Regions from separate parts of the Homo sapiens genome. Here region 2 is linked to region 1. Evidence: promoter capture Hi-C in 16 types of primary human blood cells and fetal thymus (Javierre and others, 2016). All regions are on one chromosome and are shown on one strand. The core of a region is centred on a gene start or on the middle of the fragment in contact, and the rest is flanking DNA. Distances in the headings are between cores, read along the strand shown.

Region 1 (6,517 bases), core at 2,338-4,837:
CACACCACCACACCCAGCTAATTTTTTAATATTTGTAGAGACAAGGTCTTGCTATGTTGTCCAGGATGGTCATGAATTCCTGGGCTCAAGTGATCCTCCCACTTTGACCTTCCAAAGTGCTGGGATTACAGGTGTGAGCCACTGTGCTGGGCCTGCAATGACTTTTTTTTATGAGATAATACCAATCTCTGCATTGTGTTTTTCCCAAATGTATTTCTACTTTTGCATTTATTTTTAGCCAGAGTAATTTGAAGAAACGTAATACAATTAATTAAAACACCATAAACAAGGGCACTTGCATTGTTTGTTTCTTTTTCCTTTAAAGGGGTCTCTATATCTTGGTCTCTGATCCACTGCTGGTAAAGGGGGCTCTGTATCATTAAAGCATGAGAAAACTGGAACTTATGAAATTCCACAGTAGGAAGCAGCAACCAAGAAAACCACAGTGTTAGAGACATATCCCTTTATAGTCTACTTCTAGTTATTCCTTCAATAAATCTATACTATATGTCAAGCACCATATGAGTACAACTATTGAGTAACATGGAAATGGCCCACTAGAGTCTTGTGGCTGATATCAGTAATAAATGGTAAATAGGGAAATACAAATAGGGAAGCTTTAAGTATATGCAAAGACACTAGAGAAAAAAAAAAGAACCTCAGGTAAGATGAAATTGGAAGTGCCATCAGAGCACAGATTTCTATATTTTAGAGGACTGAGGTGTTTCAAATCTCTGATAAAGGAGACAGTCTATGTAGAACATACGTAAAATAATTAACCTCCTCATGGTAGATTTCTCCCATAAATTTTTACCTTCATAGACTGAGTGTTCATAGGCTCTAGATAAGAAGCATTCTTGCAAAACTACAGCCAAGATTTTTTTCTTCTGTTTTCTAGGTTTCCCCCTTTCCGCCAGATAACATAGTTGGTCACAGAATAACTTTTACTTGGACAATCTTTTCTGGCTGAGGGCTGGTAAGATAATATTGTTGTCTTACAGATCCTCTGAAACTTTGTAAAAGCAAAGTACAATAGAAATATTGAAGCTGAATTAATTTAACTGGAAATGCTGAAAACAACCCAAGAGTGTTCCAGTTGAAGATGGCTCAAGCTGCAGCTGCTGAATGAAACTAGTCTGTTAGGGTGTGGTGGCTCACAACTGTAATGGGAGGATGAAACGGGAGGCTCACTTGAGTCCAGGAGCTTGAGACCTGCTTAGGCAACATAGTGAGACCCTGTCTCTAAGAAAAATAAAAAAAATAAGCTGGGCATGGTGGTGCACATCTGTAGTCCCAGCTACTCGAGAGGGAGGATGAGGCAAGAGGATTGCTTGAGTCTGGGAGGTGGAGGCTACAGTGAGCTGTGATCAAGAAGCCACTGCACTCTAGCCTGGGTGACAGAGTGAGATTCTGTCTCAAAAAAAGAAAAAGAAACAGAAACTAGACTGTCTAGCTAGGTACTACAGTGAAACAACCTTCTGGCTAAAACTGAATAGTCAAAAATGTGACAAAGAAAATAGTAAAGTTTATTTCTTTTTGGGAACAAGATCTTTAATTTCTCTGAGGCTAAAAGAGAGGGTACATTTCGGTGTTGGGCCTTTAATTTCTCTTATAGAAATTTATCAGGGGAAGGTGGTCCATCAATTTCAAATATGGGACAGTTTTTTGGGCTGCCCACAAGGGCTCTGTGGCCATGTTACACTCAAAATATAAAAATCCTCTCCACTAAGGTCATAATTGGACAGCGATAAAATTCATTAGTCTAGTACAGGGGTCAGCAAACCACAGCTCCATTTTTGGTATAGCCCATGATGTAATAATTGTTTTTACAGTTTTTAAGGACTGTAAAAACAGACAAGGTTATGTGACAGAGACTGTATGTGGCCTGCAAAGCCTAAAATATTTACTAGTCAGCCCTTTACAGAAAAAGTTTGCCAATTCCTGATCCTGTATGCTGTGGCCCTACAATTAATTTTGTTGCTGTCACTCTGACACACTTCAGAGGGTTGGAGAAGTGGGAGGAAGGGACTGTTTACTGTGTTGTTGGTAGAGTCCCAGGCTCCTTCTCTTTGGTGGATGGAGCAAGACCTCCAGAGACTGAAATATCTCTGAGCCCTTTATTTACATAAATCCATATTAATACCATTCTCAGTTTGGAAAACAATTTTTTAAAAAATTGAGAAAATATTTTTGTGCAAAGTACCAACAGAATAACATACACAGCAACTATTTACATGGGGCAGACGAAGGCTACAATTTAAGCAATTGCCAGATTCTCAGGATTGAGTCCTGATTTGAGATCACAGGGAGTAAGCTGTGACATCTTGGCTACTACTGATCAATAACAAGGACATTATTGAGGGCTTACCCTGTGTGAGGCACTGTGCTGACAGCACATATTATGTCAAATAACCCTCAAAATGATCCTTCCTGCCATGTGTCATTATCACAATGATTTGGCTCTTCTTAAGGCAGTTTACTTTGGTCTGCTTTCAAAGAAAAGTTGCAGTAACAGAAAGGGTCAAGAACCAAATGTATGCTATTAACACTTTCAGAAACAGAGCTCATTCAAAACAATTTTCCAAAATAACAAAATGTGAAGAATATGTAACAGTGACCGTTTTAAACACCTGCACTTATTCTTTCTGTACATGTATTCTTTCGCCTGGTACTAGGAAAACGTCCAACACCAGAGGTCCCTCCCCAGTTTAAAGTACTTCTGTCAAGTTGTTAACGCCTCATCTGTACCTGAGGAAAAGTAGAGTTTTTCCGTTTTTTATATATGGAAATCTGGGCATCTGAGAGAGGAAGGTCAGAAAAGTACTCAAAGTAGGCTAGGACGAGTTTGGCAGTGAACTCAAGAGCTGGTGGATTAGTGAGGGCGAGGGAGAGGGGAAGCCCAGCCACTGCTGTTCTGTCACCCGGTGGCCGCGGCTGCCGGGTCCGCTCTCGTGGGGCAAACACTCCGCATCCCGTCCCCTTCCCTGCAACCCGGCGCAGCTTCGTGGGAGGGGAGCCTCTCCTCAAAGCAGCCCCTGTCCCCAAGCCAGGTGCTGTCTGGTCAGCTGCCGGGAACGGATGTTCCACTCCTCCCTCACCCCGGCAGAGCAGCAGGTGAAGGGAGGTCCAAGAGGCCCACTCCTTCCCCCGAGGGCACCCCGACCCGGGCACCCGCACCTTGATGGGCTTGGTGTCGTTGGGGCCGAGGCACTGGCCATGCATCTCCTCCATGGCCCTGCAGGCCTGTGAGCTGCGGGCGAACTTGACGAAAGCAATGCCCTTGGACTCCTTGGTGTGCTTGTCCCGCACCACCCAGATGTCCTGGATGTCGCCAAAAGGCGAGAAGCGCTCCCTCAGCACCGACTCAGGTGTGTACTTGCTGATCACAAGGAAGATGCGGCTGTTGGGCGGTTCGTCCAGGCTGTCCACGCCCGGGCGGAAGCCCCCGCCGCTCGCAGAGCTGCCAGCTTCGTCCATGGTGCTCCACCCGAATGCAGGAGCCTCACTGCTCTTTGCTTCTGCGGTGTCTGCCACCGCTGCTGTCTCACACCCAAGCCTTTGCCGGCTCGGTGCTCCGCTTCCGGGAGAAAGAGGAGTCCGGCGCCAGGCGCTGTCCAGCCGCGCAGGATGAGGCCTTCCGGGGAGCGGCCTGCAGCGCCCCCTGGCGACGCGGGGGACCCTGACCCAGTCTAAGTCTCAAATCCTCAAATCCAGCTGAGCCTAGGCCCAAGTTATCAGTTGTGCAATCGTTCCCTGCAGGCAGAACAGCGCTGCCTAATGCACAGGCTTTCCCAACGCTGGCTTTACCCCACCCCTAAGGCCAAGGATTCTTTCCAGTGTTAAAGAAAAAATTATTCATGACACTCGTTAGAGATGGTACAGGAAGGCCGACTTTGACAAAGGGAGCCATGGAGATAGGTCCAGGGACAGCTGCAATGGGGTCTTGCAGTGGGAGAGAGAGATTGGACTGAATTTTGACTCTAATAAGGACAAATTTCTAACCAAGAAGCTTGGTGGGAGGTCAGTGGATGGAAAATTACAAAGAGGGAACATCAGTGTTAAGGAGGATTCTGGCTAAACCAACTTGACAGGATAGTTGCTGAAGGCAGGCCAGGGTGATTGATATCCATGGTAGTCAGACACCAAGAATGAGGATTTTCACTACACTGATTCAGCAGGATTCTTGCTCAAATTGGATTCTACAAGGACAGAAAGCCCAAGATCAAGCCTAGTCAAGCAGAGGACTCAAAGGAGCCTAACTAAGTTTTGGTCAAAGTGGAGAGTTGTCACCATCTTGGTCATAAGCTCAATAGATGATCAATATAGGACAGAGTTCAAACTATATAGCATTAGAGTTGGAAGGAAGCTTTGAGATCATTCAATTTCAGCGTCATTTGTTAGAGATGAGGAAACTGAGGCCTATAGCATAGCCAAAGTAATAGAGATAAAAAGTACGACTAAAACCAGAACTAACTTGGCCAGGCGCAGTGGCTCACGTCTGTGATCCCAGCACTTTGGGAGGCCGAGGCGGGCGGATCACGAGGTCAGGAGATCGAGACCATCCTGGCTAACACGGTGAAACCCCGTCTCTACCAAAAAAATACAAAAAAATTAGTTTGGCGTGGTGGCGGGCACCTGTAGTCCCAGCTACTCAGGAGGCTGAGGCAGGAGAATGGTGTGAACCCAGGAGGCACAGCTTGCAGTGAGCAGAGTTTGCACCACTGCACTCCAGCCTGGGGGATAGAGCGAGACTCCACCTCAAACAACAACAACAACAACAAAAAACCCAGAACTAACTCCATCTGTTGATTTACTCAACTTCTACAAGCAACCCTGGGGTTGGAGGGCAGTGAGGGTGGACTGCTCAGCTGTGGAACTAAGAGAAATCATAGAGTGCAAGCAAAGTGGGAAATGCCTTCTTGTTAACAAGCCTTAGAGGAGAGGTCAGAAACCCAGTAGAAATCCAGAAACAAGGCCTGGATTTAGCAGTGGCATTGGAATGAAGTGAAAGGAATAAACCCCTAAGTAGACCGAGGGCGGAGTTCTTCAAATGAACAAGTTCTGGATGCTAAGACCTAGGTTGCTATGAAGTCAACCAGATAAATACTTATTGTACTCCAACTGTGTGCCAGGCTCTATGCCAGGAGCTAGATATATAATGAGGAACAGGAAAGACATGTCCCGAGGGCTTGTTTTCCCCCACTGTGGAAATCTTACATGTAAATATATAATGCAAAGTAATATCAGATTATGTTACATGGTTTTGCTACTGAATTGTGTGAGCCTGGACAAGTTACTTAATACTTGCAGCTTCGGTTTCATTAACTGTAAAGTAGGAATAATATTACCTACTAAATAGGTAATACATATTATTTTGTGGTTGGATTAGTTAAGCTTGATAGCCGCCTAATAGCTACGCAGGAGCATGACTATCAAGTTTAATTAATTCACCCATTCACTTAATAAGTATTTTTGACTATCTACTATGTGTTAGGCACTGTGTTATACTGAAGGGATGTAGTATTGAACAAAATAATTACTCTTCTTCCCCCACAGAGTTAATCATTTAGCCTTATATAGTTATGCTCATATAAGATAATATATATGGAGTTCATAGTTTAGAGATCAAATGAGATAATATTTGTATAATGGTATAATTGAGATTAATTTTCTTGTTCCCTTTGACTATGGTATCCACTCCCCCACCACTGATATTATACAGTTGTGTGATGACTACTGAGAGTCAGGGATTGTGGGTTGTCACCCTGGATTTAGCACTAAGATTTTTATAATTTCTCCTTGTATTACATTCCATATCTGTAGTGAGGGTTCTGTTTACCCTGAGGCTGAACAACTCTAGGAAGTATCTTTTCTTGACTTTCCATTTCTCTTTTTCCTACCCACAACAATCAAGGTAAATGAAAATAATTTGATAGTGTGAGTTTTGTTGATGAGAGGAACTGCAAAGCAATATTATTTGCAAACCAGTGCCATCTAGTGGAAAATGTGTAATTTTCTTAAATTGTCCTGACTGGGCAATCTCTATTCTTTGTGAAATAAGACTACTGATTGGTGTCCTGAAAATTTTAGGCTGTTATTGAGAACAGTTAATTCTTTTCTCAAAAAAAGATAAAAGATTGCATAAAACAAAACCAGGAACGCAAATATTGGAAAATGCCAGAAAAGCAAAATTTCTTTACTATCCAATTATGTGAAATATGACATATTCAAGGAAAATTAGAAATTTACTTATAAATTAAAAAAAGTAAGTACATTTTCTTCATGACATGTATTTATTTTAAACAGATTTATTGAGATATAATTCTTCTTCTTATCTTATTTTTTCTTTTCTTTTTTTTTTTTTTTTTTAAGGGATTGGTGTCTCACTATGTTGCCTAGGGCAATCTCGAACTGGCCTTAAGTGATTCTCTTGCCTACGCCTCCTAAGTAGCTGGGATTACAGGTGAGACCCACCACACCCAGTGAGTTCTAATTCTTACATCATACAATTCACTCA
Region 2 (6,517 bases), core at 1,076-3,575, 810 kb before region 1:
TCCATCTGTAAAATGAAGATAATAACAGTTCCTACCTCATAAGGATATGATAAAAATTAAATGACATAATGCATGTAAAGCATTTAGCACACCACTAACATACAGAAAGAAAAATCAACCCTTACCATCTTGCAGACAGTTAAGACAACATCCTAGAGCTTAGTGTTGTTAGACTGAGCACGCAATGGCTATATTTCATTTCTTCATATCCTAACTTCTGCATTTTCCTTGCCCCTGTTTTTCTAGGCCCTCCCCAGCTTCTCCATATTCATTAAGTAGTCTCCCCTAATCGCACAGAAAGTTCTGATCAATGCCAAATCTTTTTAAAGAATTACCTGCTTTATTCTGCATCTTTACACATTATTTCTCCACCTGAGTTTGAGTATTAATGCCCCACAGATCTGAACAGACAGAAGAAGAAAGGATGGTACAAAGAGAGGAAATGAACTAACAGAGGAGCTGGAGAACAGGGACAAAACAAAGAACGAAACAGAAAGACTTGTGGGAGCTGGTGAACCCAGTTGGTGATTCAGCTGCTCTTAGCTATAGAACGTTTTTCCCCAACATTGTTCCAACTGGAGCATTGGTCCCCTGAGATGACTACAAACAGTTTATTAATCAAAAGAGTTTGCCCAAAATATTCCACACCACACTTTCCTCTAGGAGAGTCTCAATGCACATTAATACATTAAAGATGCCAAGAAGTACTGCAGTAAAAAAAAACAAAAACAAACGAAAACCACAAAAAAAAACCTGTTTTACTTTGTTTCATCTCATAAGACTGTTCAATACTTAACACTAATCAATAACATTTTGGGAAATATTTCACTGCCATTATTTTACAAGTGGGTAATGGGAATACCCATAAATAAAGAACACATTTGGAGAGCTAATGAACCAAAACTGATGCTCAGAAAAGTGGGACTAACACTTAGTGAGTGCCTATTATGTGTGCCAGAAATTGTACTGTTTTAAAAATATTTGCTCATTCCCAGTAGGTTAAAGTAATGGTTTTTAAGTGGTAACGGTAATAAAAGTGCTTTATGAAAGAACATCTTGGCACATATTAGTTTTCCTTAAGTGGGGACACAATAGCTCTTTAAAAATTGAAAGATCTTGAGAACTCACGTAGCCCATATCCATGCTTAAGAGTGCTGCTTTTGCATGCACTGAGAAATTGCAGATTTTGGAGTCTATCCTCAGTTCCCTGGAAGGTAGCATGAGACAAAGACCTGTGAACTAGTCCTGGTACTGCCTCTTACTGGATACGTAACCTTGAGTAGCATACTCTTCTGAACCTATGTCAATACTAGAAAAAATAATAATATCTAATTTAAGGGTTTTTGAGGATTATAGTTATAAGCCACAATTTTATATAACTGATACTTCAAATAATTCAAATTTCTTACTCTACATTTTATACTCCTGTATTCATTGATCAAAATGTTTTTCTTTTGCACCTAAAACTATAACAGTTTCCATGGACACCACAAAATAATATGTACAGTTTCTATCTTAACATCTGCTAATTGTTATTTAAAATACTATTGTATTGAGTGTGTGTGTGTGTGTGTGTGTGTGTGTGTGTGTATGGAGTTCAGTGACATGATCACAATTCACTGCAGCCTCAACTTCCTGGTCTCAAGCGATCCTCCTACCTCAGCCCCACCGAGTAGCTGGAACTACAAGCATGCGCCACTATGCCCAGCTAATTTTTTGCATTTTTTGTAGAGACAGGGTTTTGCCATGTTGCCCAGGCTGGTCTCAAACTCCTGGGCTCATGCCATCTGCTTGCCTTGGCCTCCCAAAGTGCTGGGATTACAAACGTGAGCCACCACACAAGCCATTTTATTCTTTCTTTATATTCCCCAAGGCATCTGTCTTAGCATAGTGCTGGGGACATAGTAGTACCATAGTAGTTACTTTGTAAAATGAATGAATGGAAACAATAATGGCAAATTGCACTAAAATTGTGCTGATTTTACACAATGTAATATAACAAATGTAACTTAATAATAGGATACTTTGTACTGGTAGAACAAGGCAGGATGGAGTCAGACTGAGACTTCTGAAATCTTGTGCTAAATTTTCCACGCTTCACAAGTAGCCTATGCCTATCACTCAACCGCAGCTTATATGGATACCAGAAGATTCACTAACAAGACAGTCATGTTAGAGATAATCATTCTTTTATGACAGTGGGTCTGACTTCAGGACTTTTGCAAGAAACTTGAATTTCCCTTCAAATAAATTGAATGTAAATATGTTTGGTTTACTCCAACTCATATTTTAATTCTGTTTAATGTTTTTCCATTCTCATGCAACAAAAAGTAAAAAGCTACCTCTTTTCATTTTCTGAAAGGTCTATATACCATTAAGAGTGAAGCCTTGAGAGGTGAAACCGATATCATGAAGGAGAAAATACCGAACAATAACAGCTATTCATTTTATGAGGAGTAACAGAACTTCATTTTATTAGGTTGGTGCAAAGGTAATTACTTTTAATGGCAAAAACCACAATTACCTTTGTACCAACCTAATAGCTGTAATTGTAGGCAGACACAAAAACAACAGTCATAAGACATGTGATTTCTCTTCATTTCTTGTACACATTTACCTGCATTGACAGTGAGACTGAATTGTGGGAAAGATATGTTTTTATACTTAAATGAATACACATCGGACAAAATGAGTTCAAGATTTAAAACTGTTGTTCATTGTATAGGGGGTATATTTTTAGGTGGAGTTCACAGAAATGGAAGTGACCTGTATTCAGGTCAGCTGGTAGCTCTGCCAGTCACTCATCCCAACTTCCTGCCTCTTTCTACTCTCCCTTTTTAGCCTCTTTCTGTGTCTTTTCCCACTACATCTACATGGTACTCAAACCTGTAGTGAAGCATTTACCACTACAATATTTACTACAATTTCATGATTTGAAAATCGAATGGCAGATTTTTGATATACTCAGCATATCTAAATATTCTCTGAATCTTATCAGAAATTATAAAAAGAGGTGTCTTTGTCAGTTTGAGTTTCTATAACAAAGTAACATAGACTGAATGGCTTGTATACAATAGATATTTATGTCTCATTGTCCTGGGTGTGAGAAGTTTGAGATCAGGGTGCCAGCACGGTAGAGTTGTGGTGAAAACCCTCTTCTGGGTTGCAGACTGCCAACTTACTGTATCCTCACATGGTGGAAGGGGCAAGGCAGCCCTCTCAGGCCTCTTTCATAAGGTCACTAATCATCTCCCAAAGCCCTACTTCCTAATATCATCACCTTGGGGGTTAGATTTCAGCAGAGGAATTTCGGGGGGACACAAGCATTCGGTCCATAACAGAGGAGATGTATAAAATAATAAGAATAATCTCTTGCAGGAATGGAATTCTGCTGTTGAGAAGCTGAAGAGTGAGGCACTGAGAATTCTGCTGTCAAAGGACTACGTGGAGAAAGAACACCTCCAGCTCTCTCACCAGAAACTCAGTCAGCTTCAAGAAGAATTTGGTCAACTCATGGTGGAAAGGAATACCTGGTTAAAGAAGGCGAATGAATTTTTTAACAGTGCTAACAAGGTCAGTGTGAGGTCAAGTTGATAATTTTCGGTAATCAGGCAGACCAGTAAAAGACCCATTACTTCAACTGACTGGAGCACATCACAGAAGTCAAAACGCCATGTAAAATTTCAAAACTGATAGCAGCAAAGAGAGCTTTTAACATATATTCCTATTATGGCCATTATTTGATTCTCAAAACTGAAAGACTGTTTTCACATGTAAAAGGTGACTTTAAAAACAACAAACAAACCTCGTGAGGGTTTTTTGTCTTTTTGTTTTGTTTGGTTTGGTTTGGTTCATTGGATGGTTTTTGTTGTTGTTTTGAGAAAGGGCCTGGCTCTGTCACCCTGGCTGGAGTGTAGTGGCGTGATCATAGCTTACTGCAGCCTCGACCTCCTGGACTCAAGTGATTGTCCCACCTCAGCCTCCCACGTAGCTGGAATCATAGGCACATGCCACCATGCTTGACTACTTTTTTTTTTTGGTAGAGACAGGGTCTTGCTATGTTGTGCAGGCTGGCCTCAAACTCCTGGGCTCAAGTGATCCTCCTGCGCTGGCCTCCCAAAATATTGAAATTGTAGGCATGAGCCACCATGCCTAGCCTCATGAGGGTTTTATCTTACAGCTGCCACTGGTCTGTTTCGGGGGGACACTTGTGCCCACATTATAGTGTTTCCCATGGAGGAAGAGAATTATCATAAATGTATCAAGGCTGAAAAATACCTTAAAATTTTTACCGAAGGCCTCCTTTTATTCATCCTCTTTAATTTACCAGGTAAAATACATATGAATATTGCAAGCCTTTTTGCACACAAGCCGTAAGGCTAGAAACAGTGCCTTAGCCTGATTGTTCCACCTTGGTCTTGCCTTTTTAAGTCAGCCAGAGTGAAATCTGGCTGTGGACCATCTCCAGGTCTTGAGTTGGAGGAGTGCTCTGCTTCTCCTCTCTGATTCATTGGACATTGATTGCAGCAGGTGGTTCCTGCTAAGTGGCAATGTTCACCTGTTCACATCACTTGAGTACGGCTCAGTGTAAGAGGCTGGTGATCTTATTTGAAAATTTTTTCTACCTTTTCCAATGTAATATACACCTTCAAACGGTGTTTTTAGAATTGTTTCATACCTTAAATTTCACTGATGTTTTCAAAACGGACAATGTGGCAGGAAATGAATGAGGAAACCCTGGAACCTAGGTACATTGTGATCTAAAAATCACAACATCAACACCCTGAATACAATGTCCTGGTGTATATCAAAATAGTGACTTAATTTTGAACTTCTTTACTAATAAGAAACTTTTTGAAAAAATAAATAGTAAAATTTCAAAACAGAGTTGCTAAATTGTGGTAAAATGTTAAAGAAAGATTTATTGTCAGATTATTTGTCATTTGGGATTTCTTTAAGAGAGGAAACAGATATACCATATTACTGGAGCTATTGAACTAATTAGATGTTAGGTGCTAGTTAAGTTTCTCCTCAGTAATTCTGTTTTTGAATAAGAGACTTTTAAATTTAAACTGCATATTCATTCTTCAAAATGAGTGAGTCATCTACAAGTCAGTTAATATTGTTTCTAAGGAAAACCATTATCAAACATATTGCTATAAAGCAATGCTTCCAGTACAAACCCTATAGTTTACAGCCTTGCAAAATGTAGTTTCTCTCTTTCATTCCCATTCTCTTACTTTTGTTTTCTCTGCTCTCATTATTTTGTACTTTGCTGGGATATTTTTCTGGGTTTTAACAGAGAAGAAATATCTCCTGCAAAAGCCTTTTTTTTAAAAAAAAAAAGAAGAAGAAGAAGAGAGTGGTTACTTTCTCAAACTCATACAGTAATTCAGGTCAGATTGGAGTAGAGAATTTATGTTTCATAATCACAAAGACTTTCGATTTCTAGATTCCCCATTTTATCATTTGAAAGCCATGGCATGCTAACTATACAAATTATAATAAGCTCCACTGGGATTTATCCATACTATAGCAGGTTCTATAGACAAGTGGCACTCAGAATAGTGTTAGAATCCTTTCTCCCTTTTCAAAGCATCAAGGAAATAATTTCTGACTCCAAATCTAAGAACTCAGTGTGAAAGATGATGGATATTTCTACCTCAGCAAAAATAGAAGCTGGAGTTTGGAATGTAGATGTTTAATCATGACTGTTGAAATGAATTTTTTACTATGTTATTAAGTAAAATAACTATATTATTTATACTATATTATTAAGTAAAATAAATGATGAAATTATGTCGTGTAAATCTACTCAAAGAAGAAAACTCTTCTTGTGGCTTATAAATGGTATTTTTCTTTTTTATTTATATTGTAAAACCTCCAAATTTTATAAAAATTTGACCACTTTACCCAATTTTTAGCCTGACACTTATAGCCCTAGTTTAAATAAAGAACTGAAGTTTTAAAATTAATATAATTTCAAAATCCCTTAAAATGTTTTTTCTAGAATAAAATTCTGTTTACACTAGTGAAAAGCTATGTTCAGTTTATATAATGAATTATCTCCGAAACACTGAATTTTCCTCTTGAAAATTCACTTCGTTGTGCCTTGAGTGCACTGGGTTTCCTAATTGTGAACATTCCTGTTCTTAGAGGAAGTCATGCTCTCAAGAACTGTGAGGGGTTTGAGATTTTACCCTACATTCAAGCTAACATGTTAACTTATCACAGTTTCATGGATGATTGCAGAAGACACCTGACCTCTGGCTCAGAGGTGATTGATTATAGCAAAGCAGCAGCCAGAGTGTCAGCATGCCACATCAATTCTCCCAGCCCCAAATCCCCCTGAGTGATGCAGATGGACCCAGATGGATATATGCAACTGCAGCAGGTGGGGTTCAGGAGAGGAACCCTAAGCTTGGGGAATCTGTAGTTTTACAGCAAATAGGAAGCATGCCTGCTCTTTGTCTTGAAGGGCAACATCACCTCAATCCTGAAGGTTGCTAGTTGCAGA

Evidence for each region. The method cuts DNA at HindIII sites, captures the fragments that hold promoters and counts their contacts. A CHiCAGO score of 5 or more calls a contact.
Region 2: a contact is called between a fragment that was not itself captured here and the fragment with the promoter of RBM45 in region 1, in 1 of 17 cell types (neutrophils). The highest score is 7.6, in neutrophils.

The regions. Positions count from the first base shown.
Region 1 is chr2:178,109,507-178,116,023 of GRCh38, reverse strand. It overlaps RBM45 (RNA binding motif protein 45), which reads right to left and starts at 3,587. Exons shown (of 10, transcript NM_152945.4): 1 at 3,178-3,587. The coding sequence starts at 3,477. RefSeq lists an enhancer at 3,382-3,551. The HindIII fragment of the contact is 3,392 bases long and covers 620-4,011 here.
Region 2 is chr2:178,915,769-178,922,285 of GRCh38, reverse strand. CCDC141 (coiled-coil domain containing 141) reads left to right here. Exons shown (of 24, transcript NM_173648.4): 7 at 3,379-3,573. LOC105373766 (a long non-coding RNA gene) reads right to left here. Exons shown (of 4, transcript XR_001739140.2): 4 at 1-5. Among named protein-coding and RNA genes, the nearest start is that of TTN, 110 kb to the right of the region's middle. The HindIII fragment of the contact is 8,194 bases long and covers 1-6,422 here.